Regions from separate parts of the Homo sapiens genome. Here region 1 is linked to region 2. The links are contacts of gene promoters, found by promoter capture Hi-C in blood cells and fetal thymus (Javierre and others, 2016). All regions are on one chromosome and are shown on one strand. The core of a region is centred on a gene start or on the middle of the fragment in contact, and the rest is flanking DNA. Distances in the headings are between cores, read along the strand shown. Region 1 holds the start of RANGRF (RAN guanine nucleotide release factor). Region 2 holds the start of TRW-CCA3-3 (tRNA-Trp (anticodon CCA) 3-3).

What was found. Contacts are between HindIII fragments. The CHiCAGO score rates a contact against its expected background, and 5 or more counts as called.
Region 1: the fragment with the promoter of RANGRF here is called in contact with a fragment that was not itself captured in region 2 in 5 of 17 cell types (total B cells, naive CD4 T cells, M0 macrophages and 2 more); the score reaches 6.9 in total B cells.

The regions. Positions count from the first base shown.
Region 1 is chr17:8,285,799-8,291,800 of GRCh38, reverse strand. RANGRF (RAN guanine nucleotide release factor) reads right to left here and starts at 3,131. Exons shown (of 5, transcript NM_016492.5): 1 at 2,936-3,131; 2 at 2,729-2,845; 3 at 2,387-2,543; 4 at 2,213-2,298; 5 at 1,714-1,988. The coding sequence starts at 3,012. The coding sequence ends at 1,865. It overlaps SLC25A35 (solute carrier family 25 member 35), which reads left to right. Exons shown (of 5, transcript NM_001320870.2): 3 at 316-468; 4 at 825-959; 5 at 1,123-1,740. The coding sequence ends at 1,296. RefSeq lists enhancers at 2,409-2,478, 2,759-2,878, 3,239-3,468 and a silencer at 2,629-2,678. The HindIII fragment of the contact is 37,216 bases long and covers 1-6,002 here.
Region 2 is chr17:8,181,892-8,188,182 of GRCh38, reverse strand. It overlaps TRW-CCA3-3 (tRNA-Trp (anticodon CCA) 3-3), which reads right to left and starts at 1,825; the gene lies at 1,754-1,825. It overlaps TRS-GCT4-3 (tRNA-Ser (anticodon GCT) 4-3), which reads right to left and starts at 1,317; the gene lies at 1,236-1,317. MIR4521 (microRNA 4521) reads right to left here and starts at 1,238; the gene lies at 1,179-1,238. It overlaps TRT-AGT1-1 (tRNA-Thr (anticodon AGT) 1-1), which reads right to left and starts at 1,023; the gene lies at 950-1,023. It also overlaps TRI-AAT5-5 and LOC105371520. RefSeq lists enhancers at 1-24, 1,455-1,564 and silencers at 885-994, 1,245-1,294, 1,795-1,844. The HindIII fragment of the contact is 1,505 bases long and covers 608-2,112 here.

The DNA.
Region 1 (6,002 bases), core at 1,882-4,381, 100 kb before region 2:
TAGGATTACAGGCGTGAGCCACCGTGCCTGATGCCTCTTTCCAATATGTACTCCAGTTCCTCTAATTTTCTGCCCCTGTTTCTCCTGACCAGTGAATGGCCTCACTTGCATACATCCCGCCCCAGTTCTTGGGTGCCCAGGGAAGGAACAATGGGGTGGCTAGACAACCAAGGGCCCACATTCTGGCTCTAAGCCCACATTGAACTGGTTGTCTGGACAAGAGATTCCTATTAAGGACCCATCCTTGGCAGTGTTAGGATGGCAGCCCCTGATGCTGGGCTGTCTGAACCCCACCCCCGGTCTTCCCCACACTAGGGCATGTTTCAGGCGCTAACCGAGATTGGCCAGAAACATGGTCTGGTGGGGTTATGGCGTGGGGCTCTGGGCGGCCTGCCCCGAGTTATCGTCGGTTCCTCCACCCAGCTGTGCACCTTCTCATCCACCAAGGACCTCCTGAGCCAGTGGGAGGTACTGCCTGGGAAATGGGTGGGTCTGTTTCGGGAAGGGGGGAAGGGGAGGGCAAGCTGCACTAGGCCCTGGAGGGGATGGTGCCCAACATTCACAGGTGAGGGAGTGGCAGGAGGGCTTGGAGGTCAACTCTTTAGACCCTTCCCACAGTTCTCTTGTCACTTCCTCCCAGAAGGGGTACCTGAGCCTTCAGGGTACCCTGGCCTTCCTCCTTCTCACTGTTTTTGCACTGTTATAACTGGTGCAGTGGAAGCTCCCCCAGTTACCAGCATCTGTGTCCCCAGGGCAGGGACTGTCCTGTCCTTGGGGTGTAATAGTTGGCTGGTTGACAACGCTCTTCCTCTCTACCCCCTTAGATCTTTCCTCCCCAGAGCTGGAAGTTGGCGCTGGTGGCTGCCATGATGAGTGGCATTGCAGTTGTCTTGGCCATGGCACCCTTTGATGTGGCCTGCACAAGGCTCTACAACCAGCCCACAGATGCACAGGGCAAGGTAAGGAAGTGCTCTGGGATGCAGGCGGGAAGCAGGGGATGGGGAAGGCAGATTGCGGGTGCAGGTGGGATAGCCTGAAATGCAGCCTGTAGAGGTGCTGCCCCTGGTGGGCTCTGACAAACTCCTTCTCTGTGCTCTCCCTCCCTCTCTGACACACTCTCAGGGCCTCATGTACCGGGGGATACTGGACGCTCTGCTGCAGACAGCTCGGACCGAGGGCATTTTTGGCATGTACAAGGGTATAGGTGCCTCCTACTTCCGCCTCGGCCCCCACACCATCCTCTCCCTCTTCTTCTGGGACCAGCTGCGCTCCCTCTACTACACAGACACTAAATAACAGCCGCTTTCCCAGTCTCCACCAAATGAGCACTCCTTGGCCACTTGTGCCTCCACCACTATGTCCTGGTGACTACTGATTAGGTGACCTTTCATCCATCCATGGGGGACAGCCAACCCCACTCCCCATCTGTTCTCAGGGTTGAATCACTACAAGAGATGAGTTTCCCTTCTTTCCTTGGGTGTTGCTTTAAACCTTCCCTACCCATTCCCTGGGTAACTCACACCCCTCTCTCAGGGCTGAACGAGTCATCCCAAAGTGTATTTCCTCCCACTCACCACTGCCACCCTTGAGTCCCTCCTGCTCCCATGCACAGTTTTAAACTCCTCCCTCCAAAACCAAAGGGAATCGAGAGACCCAATTCCCAGGCGTCTGGGACCCAGGTGTCCTGTTAGATTCAAAGGCACAGAGATTATATTGATTATAAAGCAAGTTTATTCTGAAGAGGGATTGTCTTATGTTTACGCACAGGGAAGAAATAAGAGGAAACCCTCTTTTCAACCTCTTTTCCCCCTCACAGAACCGAGTCCCCAAGTTCTCAGCAACATCATGCAGTGCTTCAGCGCCTTTACTGGGGACCAAAGATGTTAGGATCGTGAAGGGTCAGACTGGTCACCAGCTGTTCAAAGTCACCCAGGCTCCAGGGTGCAGGTGACAGATTTTCGGGGCCAAGAGATGACCTGTTGTCAGGGCTTGGGGTGGGGGAACAGATGGAGACAGAACATCATCCAGGCCTGAGGTTTGGAAATTGCCAATTCCTGTTCCCCAGAGGACCTGGGTATCAGTTACCCCAAACCTCTGGCCCACTCCTGCTTCCTTGGAGGATCCCACCAGTGAGTCTCCCTGTTCTGTCCCTCCCAGCCCGATTCTCCTGGGAACCCAGTCATGAGATACCCGCCCGTTCCTTCCTCCTTACGGGGGCTGATTGAAGGTAAGCAAGAGATCAGTCTGGTACTGGGGCAGCCTCAGCAAGGCCTGATGAAGTGTCACGTCCTTTGCTACCTAAGGGGATCAGAGTCAGGATGCTTACCTGGATCTCTGCGTCCCCGCTACCGCCCTTCCAGGACATTACACACTCTCGGGCCCTCACCTGCTGGTTTTCCTTAGCTATCTGCTGCTTGCCAGAGAGGACCCAGGCTTCTTGACAGCGGCCCCTCAGGGCCAGGTTCTCCAAACTGAGAGGCTGAACAGACTCCACATGGACAGCCCTAGCCCCCTGCACGCCACCAACATCCTCAAAGTGGTACCTGGAGTAGGGAAGCGGGGTCAGGAAGGGACATCTCTGGTCGCCTCCCCGGGAGCATCTTTAAGTTGCAGGCCTGGCTCCCGGCCCGTGCGTGGTCTCACCGCCCGGATTAACCGTCGGCCGCGGGCCCCGCCCACTGGTCCGACCCCGCCCCTGCCATTGGCCAGCCGGGGGCCATTCCCTCACCGCGCAGCCGCTTCGCCCCGTACGTGGGCCTGCAGCTCGAGAAGTTCCACTATCAGGCTCTGGTCCGTCACGGGATGGCAGAAAACTTCTTGATTGTCCGGGACCGGTCGGAGGTCGCTGGAGTGAGGCGAGGCAGACCCTGGTTGACCCCGGTCTCTTCCCACAACCCACCCAGTCAGCCGCCCCTGGGCGCCCCGGCCTTCTCACCTTACGTCAATGGCCCCCATGGGGAGGATGGCGGAAAAGGCGCCCCCGAACAGCGGGCAGTCTCTCGTGGGCTCCATGGGTCTGAGGCTGGGTTATGGGCATTAGAAAGGTTTAAAAGAAGTCCACATTGGGTCACGTGGCATCGGCTCCCTGGGTTTCGCAGCTGCCACCGCCACCCGGGTCTGGCTTAGCTCCCGGATCCTTTAAGATTTGGCTCCGCCCTGCGCTCTCGTTGGCCAATCGGCGCCAAGACCCTGGGGGCGGGGGTCAGCGGCTTTGCTCCGGAAGCCGCGCTCTTAGGAGTGCGCCTGGCGGGACGGTGGGGTCTGCCTTGGGGTTGGACTTAGGGTTAGGGTCTATGTCGCCCCCGGTGGTCACGAGCATGCTCCCGCCAGCCTCCTCTTGATTGATTGATTGATTGATTGATTGACAGGTCTCGCTGTGTCGCCCAGGCTGTAATGCAGTGGCGCGATCACCGCTCACTGCAGTCTCCACCTCCAGGACTCAAGTGATACTCCTGCCTCAGCCTCTTGAGTGGCTCCTGCTCCCGCCACCACGCCCGGCTAAATTTTTAATTACTTGTAGAAATGGGGCGGGGTGGGGAGTGTCTCCCAATCTTGCCCAGGCTGGCCTCAAACTCCTGGACTCAAGCGATCCTCCCGCCTCGGCTCCCTAAGTGCTGGAATTACAGGCGAGAGCCACAGCGCCTGGCCTCCTCGTCCTTTTCAAGTGGTCACACCTTCCAAGAAGGTCGCCTGAGACCCTCCTGAGGGGCAGGTGCTCGTCAAAGGGGCCCACGTCTAGGTAGGGTCTCTTGAGTCAGGAAAGCATAGTTTCACGGTGTTCTGGGCCTCTGAAAGAAGAATGGGCTGCCACCCAGACCGCTAATTCATAGATCTGCTGCTGGGAATTAGGGGAACAATGCGTCCAGGTTAGGATTCAGGTCTCACATCTTCCTGAAAGTGAGAGCCAACCTGGGTATTAGAAATCTAATTCCTCTCAAATATTTGCCTTGGGAATGCTCCCGGGCAGGTGCAACCCCACCCCCAGCTCCACACACCTGGACAGAAGCACAGATTAAACCCTCTTTTGTTTGTCTTTTACAGATTTGTTGTGTTCTTTAAGTTTTAACTTCACTATATCATTTCAGTTCATTTCTCTATTCATCTTTGATCCTCAGCACCCGGCACGGTGTTTAGAGCATAACAGACCTGATATATATTGGGTTTTTTTGTTTTGTTTTGTTTTTGAGATGGAGTTTCACTCTTGTTGCCCAGGCTGGAGTGCAATGGCATGATCTTGGCTCACTGCAACCTCCGCCTCCTGGGTTCAAGCTGTTCTCCTGCCCCAACCTCCCAAGTAGCTGGATTACAGGCATGCACCACCACACCCAGCTAATTTTGTATTTTTAGTAGAGATGGAGTTTCTCCATGTTGGTCAGGTGAGTCTCGAACTTCCGACCTCAGATGATCCGCCTGCCTTGGCCTCCCAAAGTGCTGGGATTATTACAGGCGTGAGCCAGCGTGCCCAGCCCAGACCTAATATATATTGTTAAGTGATTGAATAAACTCAATGCAAATGTCTGGAACCCAGGAGATCACCCATACCCTCATGGATTCTAGATGTCACCTACTTCCCAGCCAAGAATTGGGCAAGAGGACTCTGATCTTGAGGCCATTCCACAGGGTTCCAAGTGCTGACCATACCTCTGGACCCTAATGACTTAGTGAAATGAAGCCAAAGGGTACATATTTATTGGTCTCTTACCTTGCCAGGCCCTAATGTGAAGGGCTGGAGATACAAAGACATTTAGGACACAGCCCCCGATGCCTCACTGAAGGAACAGTGGAGCACACTTTGAGTCTTTTTTTGTTTTTTTTTTTGAGAGGCGGTCTCACTGTTGCCAAGACTAGACTGTAGTGGTGCAGTCGTAGCTCACTGCAGCCTCAACCTTGTGGGCTCAAGCCATCCTCCTGCCTCAGCCTCCTGAGTAGCTGGGACTACAGGCATGCACCACCATGCTCCGGTAATTTTTGTGTGTGTGTGTGTGTTTTATTTTAGGGATGGAGTCTCACTGTGTTGCCCAGGCTGGTCTCGGACTTCTGGTCTCAAGTGATCCTCCTGCCTTGGCCTCCCAAAGTGATGGGATTATAGGCATGCGCCACCATGCCTGGCCCATACTTTGAGTCTTAAAGTTTGACTCAGAATTCAGTAGGACATCCTAGGGGTATTCTAGCTGGGGGAACATCAGGAGCAAAAACTTGGAGATGAGAGGGCATATTTTGGAGAAAGCAAGTGTATCTGTTTGGCAAGGGAGGGTAGGATGGGAATGGGTGGCAGGGAGCTGCAAACACAGTCAGGTGTGCAGGGTTTTTGTAGCGCACACTAAGGAGCTTGACTCCTCATTTCTTACTATAGCCATCAGACTCCTCTCTGAGTCTCATTTCCTCATCTCTAAAATGCTGTTGGGGGGCCAGGCGCCGTGGCTCACACCTGTAATCCCAGCACTTTGGGAGGCCCAGGTGGGTGGATCACCTGAGATCAGGAGTTCTAGACCAGCCTGGCCAACATGGTCAAACCCTGTCTCTACTAAACATACAAAAAAAAAAAAAAACAAAGGAAGAAATCAGATATGGATGTAGTTGAGTCTGACCTATTTCTGGGTAAAGAGAGTAGAATAAGTTTGCTGTATGAGGAATTTGACAGAGCGGGGGCGTTACAGGCTCTAGAGGGAAAGAAGGACCCCAGCCATGGGAAACAAAAGGAGCCAGGTCAGAGGAGTCCACCCCATGATGCTTCTCTGGGATAATGAGTGACAGACCTCTCTGTCCCTCTCTCCTCCTTGCTGCCAGCCTGCTCTCCAGCTCCATTCCCCACCAGGGGCAATACTGGCTCTGGCTGCTTTGGGAGCAGTCAAGCAGGTAGAGTCCTTGGAAAGGGACCTACAGGGACATAGAAGTTAACAGGGTGCCTGCACCAGGCATAAGGGGGTGTGGAGGCCTGTTACATGGGCCCAGAGGAGGTCACGCCAGGTCAGGAAGGCTGAGAAAAAAGCCCCCCCAACTTC
Region 2 (6,291 bases), core at 111-2,610:
AGCATCTGGTCTGAGGGGAAATGTGAGGACACAGATAATCACTCACAGGGGCCCAGAGATCCGGTAACCACAGAAACGTAAAAAAGATGCTCTAGAAGAGAAGGGGAAGAAATTGTCTTCTCAGGTCCTCATGAATAGGCAGGGGCTGGGTGGATTGGACGGACATCTTACCTCTGGGGGAAGACTGGGAACACTTGTCAGCTCTATTCCTGACCATTTCCCACACTCTGCAGATCAGTGCCACGTGGTTTGAGACAAATTTGTCCCAAAGCCTTTTGTTTACAGTTCACACAGTAAGTTCAGGAGCCATATATTGTGGCCATAAGATGTAGAAGCAAAGATCACGAAACAACCCCGGTTTCTCTCAATCCCTTCCTCTCAAGACACGCCCACTTTAGAATGCGCTCCAATACGCTCCCTGTTCTGGGATTGGAAATGTGGCGCTGTTTTTCCCCAGAGACGTTACTTGGCTCTAAAACGGAGTGCAGTAATCGTACTTTCGAAAAGTTTCAATCCTGGCCCGTACGGGGATCGAACCCGCGACCTTGGCGTTATTAGCACCACGCTCTAACCAACTGAGCTAACCGGCCAGTTGCTACGAAAAGCTTGAAATAAATCTATTTAGTTACAATACTGTTCAGTTCTCTCGGGAAAAACCTTCAGTTGTGGGACTGCTTTATGAGAAATGAAAACAGAACACAAACACTGACTAACTGAGCACCTAGACGAGTAACAGACAGTACTGGCAAGTACAGATGATGCGACTGGTGTAACTGCAGGTCGAGGCGCAAGTACCATGTGCACGAAGAGCAAAAACCCAACAGCGTGTGGCAGATGCACCGGGAGAGGATAGATGGGTACGTGAGTAAACCATGTAGGATGGAAGTTATGAGTTTCTGCAACTGTCCTCACAATGTTTAATGTTGGCAAAAGCGTGGGGGAAACACGGAGGCACCGCTGGGATTCGAACCCAGGATCTCCTGTTTACTAGACAGGCGCTTTAACCAACTAAGCCACGGCGCCGCCGGAAAGACGCTTAGGATCTTGTTTCCTTGGCCAGGTCAGCTGAATTGCAGAGAATGAATACAAAGATGTCACAAAAAGTCGGCTGCATACGAAAATGAGGAAAGGATGGATGCAGCTGGGAAAGACACGAAAACTGAATGGAGTGACTGGGGGTAACAAGAGAAATCCTAGTTTTGATGCTACAAAACTGAGCACAGGACTTCCTTAGCCGACGAGGATGGGATTCGAACCCACGCGTGCAGAGCACAATGGATTAGCAGTCCATCGCCTTAACCACTCGGCCACCTCGTCTGCAGACAGCCCTCGCTGTTCAGACTGCCCTCCGCATCTCACTTCTCTGGAACCTGAACTTCCTGCAGGTGGGGCTCGCCTACGTCGTGAAGGCTGCACATTTGGAAGGAATCCGCTCGGCACTGGAAAGAGAACTCGTAGATCAGAGACCGACTTCTTCCATGCGTGATGGCCCGACCCTCGTCCCTCTGCTGAGAGGTCTAGAACTGCTCCTGTCTTAGGACCCGCGTTATCCGCCCAGAATTACGGTACCCGGATCCATCGCAAAAATCCCCGCGCGATGGTTGGGCTGTCCAGACGGGGCGGCCTTGGAACTTCCAGAAACCCCTCTCCTTCAGGCCCCAAGGAGATATTGCTTCTTCAATGACCTGAACGCTGAAGCTCGACCGTAGTTTAAAATAAAGGGGGTTAATAAAAACCGAAGAAAAATAGCCGCTGACCCCGACGTGATTTGAACACGCAACCTTCTGATCTGGAGTCAGACGCGCTACCGTTGCGCCACGAGGTCGGCCGGCCACTCGGCAGCTCAGGTCTCCCCATGACCACTGTGCGCCCTGGAGGCCAGGGTCATGAATCGAGGCATGGATGGGCACCTAGGGCATTTCTGCCCCTCTGAACAGCTGCGGGGTCGTATCTGCGCTCGCCGAGCCAGCCCTGTAGGACGAGCCGGGCGAGTGGCACCCCAGGGCAGTGACTATGGGATCCAGGCTTAGCGGTCTGTCCCTCCCGGCCCCCGGCGTCCTGCCAACGCCCAGATAGAGGGTCCCGAGCTGATCGCCAGGGGATCCCAAAGCTTACAGCCCAGTGGGGACGGACCTGCCTAGAAACGGATGGAAGGATGGGAACCAGACGGAACGTGACAGAGCAGTGCCAGAGCCTAGGGCACCTGAAGTGGTAAGAGATTTGCTCCCCCAGCAGCAGGTCTCCTCCCCGGTTGCACTTTTGTAATTGCCTGCGGAGACTTCGAATGTACCCACGCACAACCCCCGGGTTCGGAGATTCTGATTTAAACGGCCCAGGGAAGAGCTCTGAGATCGGTATGTAAAACTTTTGAAAAATATCGGTATTTCAACTGTTGGAGGGCAGATAAATTTTGTCTATATTTTGATGAGTTTTGACAAATACATACACCTGCGCAAATCACAACTCTTTAAAAGCATATAGGACATTTCCCTCTCTCAAGGTTCTTGCATGTCTGTCCCTTCTCTACGGATCCCCACTCCTCCCTTGCCAGAGGCAATCTCTGTTCTAATTTTAACCACCACAAACATCAGTATTTCTTTTTTTTTTTTTTTTTTTTTTTTTTTTTTGAGACGGAGTTTCGCTCTTGTTGCCCAGGCTGGAGTGCAATGGCGCGATCTCGGCTCACCGCAACCTCCGCCTCCCGAGTTCAAGAGATTCTCCTGCCTCAGCCTCCCGAGTAGCTGGGATTACAGGCATGCGCCACCATGCCCGGCTAATTTTGTATGTTTAGTAGAAACAGGGTTTCTACATGTTGGTCAGGCTGGTCTCGAACTCCCGACGTCAGGTGATCCGCCCGCCTCGGCCTCCCAAAGTGCTGGGATTACAGGCGTGAGCCACCATGCCCGGCCAACATAAGTTTTTTGTTGTTGTTTTTCTGTTTTTGTTTTGTTTTGTTTTGTTTTGTTTTTTTGAGACGGAGTCTCACTCTGTCGTCCAGGCTGGAGTGCGGCGGCGCGACCTTGGCTCACTGCAACCTCCGCCTCCCGGATTCAAGCAAGTCTGCCTCAGCCTCCCGAGTAGCTGGGATTACAGCGCCCACCACCGCGCCCAGCTATAATTTTTGTATTTTTGGTGGTGACAGGGTTTCACCATGTTGGCCAGGCTGGTCTTCAACTCCTGATCTCGTGATCCGCCCTCCTCGGCCCCGCAAAGTGCTGGGATTACAGGCGTGAACCACCGCGCCCGGCTGTTTCTAGAAGAATGAAAGGAGTTCAATAGGCCGAGATGGCACAAGAGGTCCTGCCTGTATCTCATTCCTTTCCATCCAAGCCAAATTTCTACACAGTGGCTCTCTCGAAAGTTATCAGGGACCACAGAGATGTCAAAGCCAACAGGCTTTCTCAGGCCTGGCCTTAACCGACTCCAGGCAACATCTTCTCCATGAGCCTCATTTCCCATGGTTGTCTTGACACTAGTCTGCTGGCCCTTCCTAACTGGCTCCCCGCTCCAGTCTCTTTTTCTTTTTTCTTTTATAAATTTTTTTGAAACGGAGTCTCACTCTGTCGCCCAGGCTGGAGTGCTGTGTGGCGCGTTCTCGCTCGCCGCAACCTCTGCCTCCCGGGTTCAAGCGATTTTCCTTCCTCAACCTCCCGAGTAGCTGGGATTACAGGCGTGGTGCCGGTTAATTTAATTTTTTTTTTTTAAAGTAGAGACCGGGATTCACCATGTTGGAGAGGCTGGTCTCGAATTGCTGACCTCAGATGATCCACCCGCCTCGAGCTCCCAAAGGGCTGGGATTACAGGCGTGAGCCACCGCGCCCAGCTCCAATCTCTTTTTCTGTTCTCCCTGTAAATCCTGGTTTTCCTCGGGTGAGGTTTTCTCTCCTCATGCTACACATGTTCTACGGATTCAGCTATTTCCTGCTTGCTAAGGGCTCCTGAATCTCGCTCCCACCTCTGGACTCAGATGTGTAGTGCCTGCTGATACCTTCACTTGACCCTGCCATACTTCCTTCCAGTCTTTCTGCACTCCCAGAGAGTGGCCAGGCCCAGGCTGGGGGATGCATCCTTGATTCTTCCCTCCCCCTACCGTCTTACTTCCAGTCACCACATCCTGTCAATTCCATTTCCTCAATAATCCCCCTGTCAACCATCCTTCCCCATCCCACTGACAACCCCTCAGCCTCTCTTGCTGGATTGTTGTAGCAGGCTCCTCTCTAATCTCCCTGCCACCCGAATAGTCAGATAATCGTCTTTTTCTTTTTTTTTTTTTTTTTTTTGAGATGGAGTCTGGCTCTGTCTGGAAGAAGAGGAGGAGGAGGAGGAGACGGAGCCGGGCATGGTGGCTCACGCCTGTAATCCCAGCACTTTGGGAGGCCGAGGCGGGTGGATCACCTGACGTCGGGAGTTCTAGACCAGCCTGACCAACATGTAGAAACCCTGTTTCTACTAAACATACAAAATTAGCCGGGTGTGGTGGCGCATGCCTGTAATTCCAGCTACTCGGGAGGCTGAGGCAGGAGAATCTCTTGAACTCGGGAGGCGGAGGTTGCGGTGAGCCGAGATCGCGCCATTGCACTCCAGCCTGGGCAACAAGAGCGAAACTCCGTCTCAAAAAAAAAGAAAGAAAGCAAGCTTAGGCACCAACCAGAAGAAGCTCCCACCGACCAAAATTGGGACAATTTGAACATCAAAAAGAATAACTGCAATGGATTGAAATACACAAAAGATGTTAAAATGTACAAGTTCATAATGATATTAAAAACAACTAATTACTTTTTCAAGATGCTAGAGAACCAACTCATTTTTCTGAAAACTGGTAAATCATAAGAAAAAACCCACACATTTATCCTGCCTTTCCTGTATGACCTGTATCTCATGGTAAACAAATTGATGATGGCAAGTTCTTACTGCAGAATGACAGAATTAGGACATCCCAATTTTGCAACTCCTAATGAAATAATAGAGCTAGGCAGTGATGATCAACTAAACCATTAGGTGAAAAACGGACGGGGAATTTTATAATTGTTGCCTAGTCTGACTACACCTGAACCCAATGCTCAGCCTAAACACTAGAAAAACAGGGAAAAGCAGGCGTCCTGATGCAATGGAATCAGGAGAACAAACCGTCACTCATGATGTGTTTTTACCAGAAAACTGAACGTGAGACTAACCAACCACTGGATCTAAGAACCAGTTTACAGGACATGCAGGGCATGGAGGAACATGTTAAATCACATCACAAGAATAAGGCCCAGAAATGGCTCAATGCCTTCAACTGATAAATTGCAAGAAAAGAAAAGAAGGAGAAAGGAGGTGAGGGGGTAGAGAGGAGGCAGGACCCAAGATGAGCGAGACATGACAACCAGGTGCAATGTGTGGACTTTATTTGGACCCAGATTCAAACAAACTGTAAAAGAAAAAAGAAGTGTGTAGGAGACACTTGGGCAATTTGAACTGTTTGATGACGTCTAGGATTTGCTTCAAAATAACCTGGTGTGTGCCATGAGGGAGGGTATACCTGAAACAAAGTTGGCCATGTGTTGATAATTGTTGAAGCAGAATAGAAGTGTTCATTATCTCCCCTCCCCTCGGCTCCCCCATCCTTCCCTCTCCCCACTCCCTCACCTTTCCCCCTCCCCTCCCCTCCCCTCTTTTTGAAGGAGTCTTGCCCTGTCACCCAGGTTGCAGTGCAATGGCACGATCTCAGCTCACTGCAACCTCCACCTCTCAGGTTCAAATGATTCTGCTGCCTCAGCCTCCCGATTAGCTGGGATTACAGGCACCTGCCACCATGCAGCTAATATTTGTATTTTTAGTAGTGACTGGGTTTCACCATGTTGGCCAGGGTCTCGAACTCCTGACCTCGTGATCTGCCCACCTCGGCCTCCCAAAGTGCTGGGATTACAGGCATGAGCCACCGCACCCGGCTATTTTCTTTATTTTGTCATGTTTGAATTTGTCCATGATAAAAAAACGATTTTTAACTCCTTTTATTAAGAGTTCAAATCTTAGTACTTGTGGGTCCCAGTCCTGGAGTGAGTAGTCACTTGGGGGGACACCTCATCACCAGCAGTACCTCCTATGGCCACTGGCTGGCTCTAAATATCGGTTTTGTGAGCAGGCAGAAATAGCGTCTCTATAGGGCAGGCTTCTGTGAACCAAGGTCATGGAAAATGACAGGAAAGGCTACTCACTGTTTATCAGTTCAGGACATGAAATGTGACTACCCCGTTGTTACTTATATAGTAAGTCCCCTATGCAGAAGGCCTATTTTTTTTTTTTTTTTTT